3 separate regions of the Homo sapiens genome follow, and regions 1 and 3 are each linked to region 2. Evidence: promoter capture Hi-C in 16 types of primary human blood cells and fetal thymus (Javierre and others, 2016). All regions are on one chromosome and are shown on one strand. The core of a region is centred on a gene start or on the middle of the fragment in contact, and the rest is flanking DNA. Distances in the headings are between cores, read along the strand shown. Region 1 has its middle 86 kb from the start of SGIP1. Region 2 holds the start of LEPR (leptin receptor). Region 3 overlaps ITGB3BP (integrin subunit beta 3 binding protein).

Region 1 (2,700 bases), core at 75-2,574, 1.0 Mb before region 2:
TCCTCTTGGGCATGCTATTTATTAGCAGATTATTTTGAGAAACTAGATGCAAGAGCGCTCTGAATAGCTACCCTTTTGTAAAATAAATGTGCATCTCTAAGGAAAATTTTTATTAATAAAGATATCTGTATTAAGGAAAGAGCTGCTCCTGAGACAACTCTTACCACCTGAGAGATCCTTATCTGTATAATGAGACCACATTTATTCACTGTACATTTCCCCCCCCTCATCCTTCCATAACTTGTCCCCACTACTCCTTAGGAGCCCCAAACCCCTCTTTCTGTCTGTAGCTCAGGATTCCATAATATATAAGCATCAATCATTCAGCTCTTCTTTGAGTCTCATATTTTTGTGGGACTCCTGTGCATACATACACAATTCAAATTATTTTTCACCTGTTAATATGCCTTATGTCAATTTAATTCATGGCTCAGCCAAAGAACCTGAAGGGTACAGAGAAATCATTTTTTTCTTCCCATGCAAACCTAATACAGCTTGCAATCCTAAGCAATAGACCCTGTCTACCTATTTATTGTAGAAATTTTAGAAAACAAAGAAGAAAGTGTACAAAGCATTCTTGATCCTATGTTCCCAAGTCCATCACTATGGATTGTATATTTTTAAGTTTGTTTTTGCTTCCTCCCAAACACCATTTCATTCAGTTTCATCGTTTAAAAATAGCAGCAACTCTCTTGTGTATTTTCTTTCATTTTATCATTTGATCAGCTCTACTCCTTGTGGGATGTGCTTTAAAAATAGTGAAAATGGCTATTAACCTCAGAATCCTCAGTTTTTTTATCATCGTCATAACCACCATGATCATTTCAGCTCACCATCTCGCCCTACCTTCCTAACTGCTGCTTTGCAAGCCCTCCTCCTGCTTGTGCACCAACTTTTACTCCTGTAACTCCAAATTAGTTGCGTTAGAATTTGCTTCCATCATCTCATCTATGTATCTTGATCATCTGTTTGGATATACTATCCTTTTATATCTCTGGGCTGTGTTATAGGTAATTTATTCAAGTTATATTTTCCAACTCTCTAATAGTCTTTTCATCTTTGTTTAATTTGCTGTTTCATTCAGCCATTGCGATCCGGGTGTGTATTTGAAATCTACGAGTTTTATTTAGTTCTTTCTAAAATCTGCCATATTGGTTTTTAAACTTTTGTATTTATTTTTTGAATGTGTTTTTTTTGTAGAGATGGGGGTCTCACCATGTTGCCTAGGCTGGTCTCAAACTTCTGGGCTCAAGGCCTCCCACCTTGGCCTCCCAGAGTGCTGGAATTACAGACATGAGCCACTGCGCCCAGCCCAGTTTTCACATTCTGTTTTTCTTGCTTTTTTAAAATTTCCTTTTCCATTTCTTTTGACCTTTTACACATGGTTGTTTCTGTTGACAAAAAGCCAAACTCTGTAAAATATTTGAAGAGATTTCTTCTAAGTCAAATGCAAAGACCATGACCCATGATACAGCCTCAGGAGGTCCTGAGAACATGTGCCCAATGTGGTTGGGTTACAGGTTGGTTTTATACATTTTAGGGAGACACAGGACATCAATCAATACATATGAGGTATACATTGCTTTGGTCTGGAAAGGTGAGACAACTTGAAGTGGGGGCTTACAGGTCATAGATGAATTCAAAGATTTTCTGATTGACAATTTGTTGAAAGAGTTAGTTATTATCTAAAGACCTGGAATCAACAGAAAGGAGTGTCTGGGTTAACGTAAGGTGATGTGGAGACCACAGTTCTTATTATGTAGGTGAAGTCTCATAGGCAGCTGCTCTTAGAAGTAATAAATGGCTAATATTCTAATATTTCCTATTCATACCTTTAAAAATGCTAAACTCTCATCTAATCCCTTCAGGGTCAGAAAAATACCTGGAAAGGGAAGGGGATTCTCTGCAGAATGTAAATTTTCCCCACAGGAGACAGCTTTGCAGGGCCATTTCAAAATATGGCAAAGAATTATAATTTGGGGTAAAATACTTTTGTTTCTTTCAGGCCCTGCTATCTGTCATGTGATGCTATGCTTGAGTCAGGTTGGAAGTTGGTATCTTAATGTTACCAGAGTCTGTTTTGTCAGTCTTGAGATCTCTGTTTTAATTTTAATGCTGGACAGTTGTGCCTGAATTCCAAAGAGAGGAGGGTGTAATGAGGCATGTCCAATTCCCCTGCCCTTCGCATCATGGCTGGAACTAGTATTTTATGTTTCTTTGGAATCCCCTTGGCTGACAGGAGGGGTCCATTGAGTTGGTTGGGGGGACTTAGAATTTTATTTTTGGTTTGCATTTCACATTCTTTTTCGGATCACTCCAATATCTGGTCTTTGAAAGTCTAATCTTTCATGTATTATTTCTGCTGTCTCTCATGTGCTCCTTGTGTGTTCTTTGGTTTTGGTTTTTCTGTTTTCGTTATGAGCTATATTTTATGGAATACAATCTGTAAGAATCCAATAACCTATATTGGAGGTGCTGATTGCAGCAATGTAAGTATTTATTTCCAGACAATCCCACCATATAACTCCCTCCTCTGCTCACTTGCTTACTGCTACGGCTGCCTGCTCAGGTTGTAGTTCATTGCTTCTGTTATTATTTACTTAACTCTTAGAGCCTCAGAAGTTTTCCCTCACTTTTTAATAAGTGTAACAATGCATTAAAATTATGTTTATTGTGTGTGTGTGTAATTCATCATTGGAT
Region 2 (2,700 bases), core at 143-2,642:
CCCACCGCATCTGAGCCCAACATAAACACTGACATAGTAATATAATTATTTCCAGCTCTGTCACCCACCAATAACTTCTCATTTATCTTTGTATCCTAAGTCTCTGGCATACAGTAGTTCCTCAATAAAAGTTGAACAATCTGTAAAATGCTTCCTTCCCTTAGTCCGTTTCCATTTCAGACTTCCTTTTTTTTCACTACATCACAATTTTCTAACACATTCACACATAAACGTGATCATGATTTGGTAGTTTCTGATCATGTGTAGTACTGAGACACTACTTTTCATCTGTTTTCGGCATTGGCTTCAAATGGATATATAACACAGTCGACACTCTCCAAGTAAACCATGTTTACTAAACTGATATTAAGTATAAAAGTCAGCCAGAAATAACGATAAAATGTCTGCTGCTAACAGCTCACATACTCGGATAAATTCATAGTGAACAGAGGCGTACTCGTATATATACTATCTACATGTTTATAGCAGATGTTAACTGGGGATATCTTTGGGTGCAAATTTCAAGGATGATATAAAAGCCAATATAAAAACAAGTCATGCTACTCTATTCGACAGATTAGAAATGGAATGTTTTCCTACCAAAATACAGGAAGCCTTGCAAAAAACCTTTTCCGTCTCGCATTGCTCTGAAGCCATACAGATAAGGGACGCGGTGTTTTTACCAACTGCCCCATGCAAAAAACACATACTACACACACACTGGTTTCTTCTCTGTCCATAAACAGAGAAAACACCGAAGAAAGCAGTATTAAAATTACACGTAATCTACTCTCCACGACTGCGAGAAACACCGTCTTTCTGGGTGCTTTCCATTGACACCCGCCCGCGGTCAACTCTGCCCAGTTGGAAAAATCATTAGGAAAAAGAGGATTAAGTTTCCCAATGCTAAGAACGCTGGAGACAAAGGGTCCTTTGTGGCAAATAGGAAACTGCGGAGGGGCAGAAAACCAGAAGAAAGGCGTTAGGGTGGCGTCAAGAAGTGGAAACCTTGTTTAAAAACTCAGGAGAGGTGGAGGGCGCCGCTCTCGCCGAGGGCTCAGGCTGGGGAGGGGTCTGGTGCCGCCACTGGAGAGCAGGAAGGCCAGCGGCCTTGCAAAAAGGGCCAAGGCTCCCCCGAAACGCCGCTCCACCCACACCCCAAGGGACGAAGGGAGCGGTCGATCGCCTCCCGAACCGGAGAGGCGGGAAGGGTGGTGAGGCCGTTCCCCAACGGCGCGCGGAAGGCGCAGCCCCAGGCTTGACCGGAACGGAGGTGGCAACCCCACCACACGACAAGCGAGCCGGGGACCGCGATGTACCTTTAACGCCCGCCATGTCTCCCGAACTGGGGCCGCGGCTGCTTCCGGCTTCCTGCCACGGCCCGGGCAGCCTGCCCAAGCCAGACCGGGAGTCGCCCCGCGGATCCCGAGCCCGCCCCGGCCACGCAGAGCCCCGCCCCCGCCGGTGCAGAACTCCGACCTTAGCTCGCAAACGCGGCGCCTGCTGCTCCAGACCCCGCCCCCACCACTCACAACCCCGCCCCCGCCGGTGCAGAACCCCGCCCCCAGCTCGCAGAGGCCGCGCCTGATAGTTCAGACCCGGCCTCGCTACTCAGAGCCCCGCCCCTGACAGTACAGAGCTCCTCCCCTACCTCGCGGAGGCAGCGCCTGCGGCTCCAGACCTCGCTACCGCTACTCGAAGCCCCGCCCCAGACAATGCAGAGCTCCTCCCCTAGCTCGCGGAGGCCTCCCCTGCTGGTCCCGCCCCAGCCCTCACCGGCCCAGAATTCCGCCCCCAACTCTCAGAGGCCGTCCCTGCTGGTCCCGACCCCGCCCCCGCCACCCAGAACTCCGCTCCTGCCAGTCTAGAACTCCGCCCCCAGCTCGCAGAGTCCATCTCCAGCCCTAAGGTCCCACCTGGTCCCACAGAGCTTTCCCAGAGTAACCCCAACCCAGTGCCCTGGGCCCTCCTCCTAGATCCTGAGCCCTCCAAGTAATCCTCAAGCCCGTTCAATGTGGGTTGGGACCTTGGCTCCGCCCCGACCGCGGGCCCAGAGTCTCTCCCCGGCCTCTCAGAACGCAGTGCACGCAGCGGGGGATCCTCCCTGAGCCTTCCTGAGAACGGAGATGTAGAAAGTGGGGAGAGGCAGGAGAGGGAAGGAGGGGAAAAGTTGCAATCGATGGGAGAGGGACACCGACTCACTAACCAGTGTTATGTTCCCTGAGCTCCCAAGTGCGTGCTAGTGTGCGAGTGTGTGCCTGTCTGCCTTCACATGACTGTGGCAGAGGAGAGGCGGGGTACCAGAGGACAGGCCCCTTAGGAAACACTCCTCATTAAGAACTTGATATTTGCATAGGTTTGCTTTGCTTAATAGCAACGCTTTACTGAAACTAGCGGGGTTTTTCTTTACTCCCTGGTTTATTTATAGAGACGAAGACCATATAAGCTTTTGTGTCCGAAGCTTTCATGAACCTTAAAAAAAAAAATAAAAAAAAAAAGCTATTATTTTTGTGCCTTGGGGCCTCAAAGTTTGCAGGTAACCAAGGCCAGTTTTTAGATCTCTGAGAGCCATTGTGTACTTATCTTACAGGAATGGAGAGTTCTGTTTTGGCAAAAGCAATCTAGAAGATCATTGAAACAGTCTGGTCCAAATGCTTCAACTTACATTTAAGGAAAGAGGTGCAGAAAGGATAGGACTTG
Region 3 (2,700 bases), core at 180-2,679, 1.9 Mb after region 2:
ATAAGCAACAAAGTTGAAAGTTAAAAAAAAAAAAGAAAGAAAAGAAAGGGAAAGGTAGATATAACAGTCTAACAGGAGAGAAACCAAATGATCAATATCCAGAATGAAAGGGTAAATTGTACTTAGATGAAAGAGAACATAAACTATCAATATCCAAAATGAAAGAGCAGAATACCACTAAAGATGCTATAGATATTGAAAGAGGTAATATCATTAAAGCCTTTATTCCAGTAAACTTGACAACTTATACAAAATTGACAAATTCCTTGAAAAATACAACTTAGCATGATGGCATAAGATGATACAGAAAATCTGCATAATTAAGGAAATAGAATTTGTTACTAAGAATCTTCCCACAAAGACCCAGACGATTTCATTGGTTAATTGTACAGAGAACATACCCATTCGTGAGAAAATAAAACCCTCAGCAAACTAGGAATAGGAGGCAACTTCTCATTTCTTTGAAAAACCTATAGATAATATATTTAGTATCGAAAACTTTTTTAAGATTAGGAAAAAGGCAAGAACGTGCCCTCTCACCACTTCTATTCAAAAAAGCACACACAGAAAAACACCCATAGTGTTAAAAAGGAAAAAGTGGGGCCAGGCCCAGTGGCTCATGCCGGTAATCCCATCACTTTGGGAGGCTGAGACAGGCAGATTGCTTGAGCCCAGTAGTTCAAGATTAGCCTGGGCAATATGGCAAAACGCTGTCTCTACGAAAAAATATGAAAATTAACAAGGTGTGACGTTACGTGCCTGTAGTCCCAGCTACTTGGGAGGCTGAGGCAGGAGGATCACTTGAGCCGAGGAAGTCAAGGCTGCAGTGAGCTGTGATTGTGTCACTTGCATTCCAGCCTGGATGACCCTGTCTCAAGACAAACAAAAACAACAACAACAAAAAAGGAAAAAGTAAAATTAATGATTCAACAATGACATCATGTATGAAGAAAATCCTAAAAAATCTATAAAACAATTTTCAGAACAATTTAGCAAGGATGTAGGATGCAAAATCAGTGTACAAAGATCAATATATTTCTATATTTCAGGAATAAACACCTGGAAATTGAAGTTTAAGATTTTTCATTTATAATTACATAAAAACATATAATAATTTAGCATAAGACATGCAAGACCTCTACAGTGAAAATTACAAAATGTTCCTTAGAGAAATTAAAGATGAAGATAAATGAGAGTATTTTTATTTATTTTTTATTTATTTTTATTTATTTTTATTTTTTTATTATTATACTTTAAGTTTTAGGGTACATGTGCACAATGTGCAGGTTAGTTACATATATATACATGTGCCATGCTGGTGAGAGTATTTTTAAGTGATAAATGTGGTATTATTAAAATGTTAGTTCTCACCAATGTTTAGATTTAATGCAATCCCTGTCATAATCCTAACAAACATTTCTTTTTAAGTTTTGCTCTTTTTTTATTTCTACTGTTTAAAATGGATCTTTTTTAAAAAAAGTTAAGTGGATGAAAACTTGTATAATAGTATTTGGTATTATCTTTATCTTTTCTGTTTTATATTTCATTTTTCATGTAATCTAATTTTCCTTCTTTGTACTTTCTTTTTTTGAGTATGATCATTTATACCTAACTTATTTGTTTTTATTTTTTATAGACTCAGGGTGTATATGTGCAGATTTGTTACAAGGATATATTGCATAATGGTGAGGTTTGAGCTCGTAGGTGCCCATCACACAAATAGTGAACATTGTACCCGAAAGATAATTTTTCAACCCTCACCTTCCTCCCATACTTCCTCCTTTTGAAGTCTCAGTGTCTATTATTTCCCTCTGTATGTTCATATGTACCCATTGTTTAGCTCCCACTAATAGATGAGAACATGTGGTATTTGCTTTTCTTTTTTTTTCTTTTTTCTTTTTTTTTTTTTTTCATGAAACAAGGTCTTACTCTGTCACCCAGGCTGGACTGCAGTGGCATGAACATGGCTCACTGCAACCTTCACCTCCTGGGCTCAAGTGATCCTCCTGCCTCAGCCTTCCAAGTAGCTGGGACTACAGGTGTACACCACCACACTGGCCTAATTTTTAATTTTTTTGTAAAGACAGAGTCTCATTGTGTTGCCCATGTTGATCTCAAACAATCCTCATGCCTTAGCCTCCTAAAATGCTGAGATCACAGGTGTGAGCACTGCCACACCCAGTTGATTTTCTTTGCTTTCCTTTCCTCTTTTTTCTCTTGTTTTCTTTCTTTTCTTTCCTTTTCCCTTCCCCCCCCCTTCTCCCCCACCTTCCCCCGCTCCGCTTCCCTTCCCCTCCCCTCTCCTCTTTTTTTTTTTTTTTTTTTTTGAGACATGGTCTTGCTCTGTCACCCAGGCTAGAGTGCAGTGGTGCAGTTTGCTCACCACAACCTCTGCCTCCCAGGCTCACTCTGGACTCAAGCAATCTGCTCAGCTCAGCCTCCCAAAGTGTTGGGATTACAGATGTGAGCCACCATGCCTGGCCTAATTTTCTGCTTCTGAGTTATTCCAGTTAAGATAATGATTTCCAGCTCTATTCATGTTGTTGCAGAACAACACGGTATCATTCTTTTTTATGGCTGCATAGTGTTCCATGGTGTATATATACCACATTTCTTTATCCAGTCATCCATTGATGGACACAAGATGATTCCATGACTTTGCTGTTGTGAATAGTGCTACAATAAATGTACAAGTACATT

Evidence for each region. The method cuts DNA at HindIII sites, captures the fragments that hold promoters and counts their contacts. A CHiCAGO score of 5 or more calls a contact.
Region 1: a fragment that was not itself captured here is called in contact with the fragment with the promoter of LEPR in region 2 in 3 of 17 cell types (fetal thymus, total CD4 T cells and non-activated CD4 T cells); the score reaches 6.8 in fetal thymus.
Region 3: a fragment that was not itself captured here is called in contact with the fragment with the promoter of LEPR in region 2 in 1 of 17 cell types (activated CD4 T cells); the score reaches 7.2 in activated CD4 T cells.

What each region holds. Positions count from the first base shown.
Region 1 is chr1:66,447,177-66,449,876 of GRCh38, reverse strand. No RefSeq gene overlaps it. Among named protein-coding and RNA genes, the nearest start is that of SGIP1, 86 kb to the left of the region's middle. The HindIII fragment of the contact is 4,206 bases long and covers 1-2,700 here.
Region 2 is chr1:65,419,360-65,422,059 of GRCh38, reverse strand. LEPR (leptin receptor) reads right to left here and starts at 1,392. Exons shown (of 20, transcript NM_002303.6): 1 at 1,320-1,392. It overlaps LEPROT (leptin receptor overlapping transcript), which reads right to left and starts at 1,392. Exons shown (of 4, transcript NM_017526.5): 1 at 1,320-1,392. The coding sequence starts at 1,335. RefSeq lists enhancers at 889-938, 1,012-1,545, 1,546-2,078 and silencers at 1,309-1,808, 1,829-1,898. The HindIII fragment of the contact is 9,332 bases long and covers 1-2,448 here.
Region 3 is chr1:63,515,924-63,518,623 of GRCh38, reverse strand. The region is part of intron 1 of ITGB3BP (integrin subunit beta 3 binding protein); the gene reads left to right. LOC102724319 (a long non-coding RNA gene) reads right to left here. Exons shown (of 3, transcript XR_426701.4): 3 at 830-868. Among named protein-coding and RNA genes, the nearest start is that of ITGB3BP, 6.0 kb to the left of the region's middle. The HindIII fragment of the contact is 5,782 bases long and covers 1-2,700 here.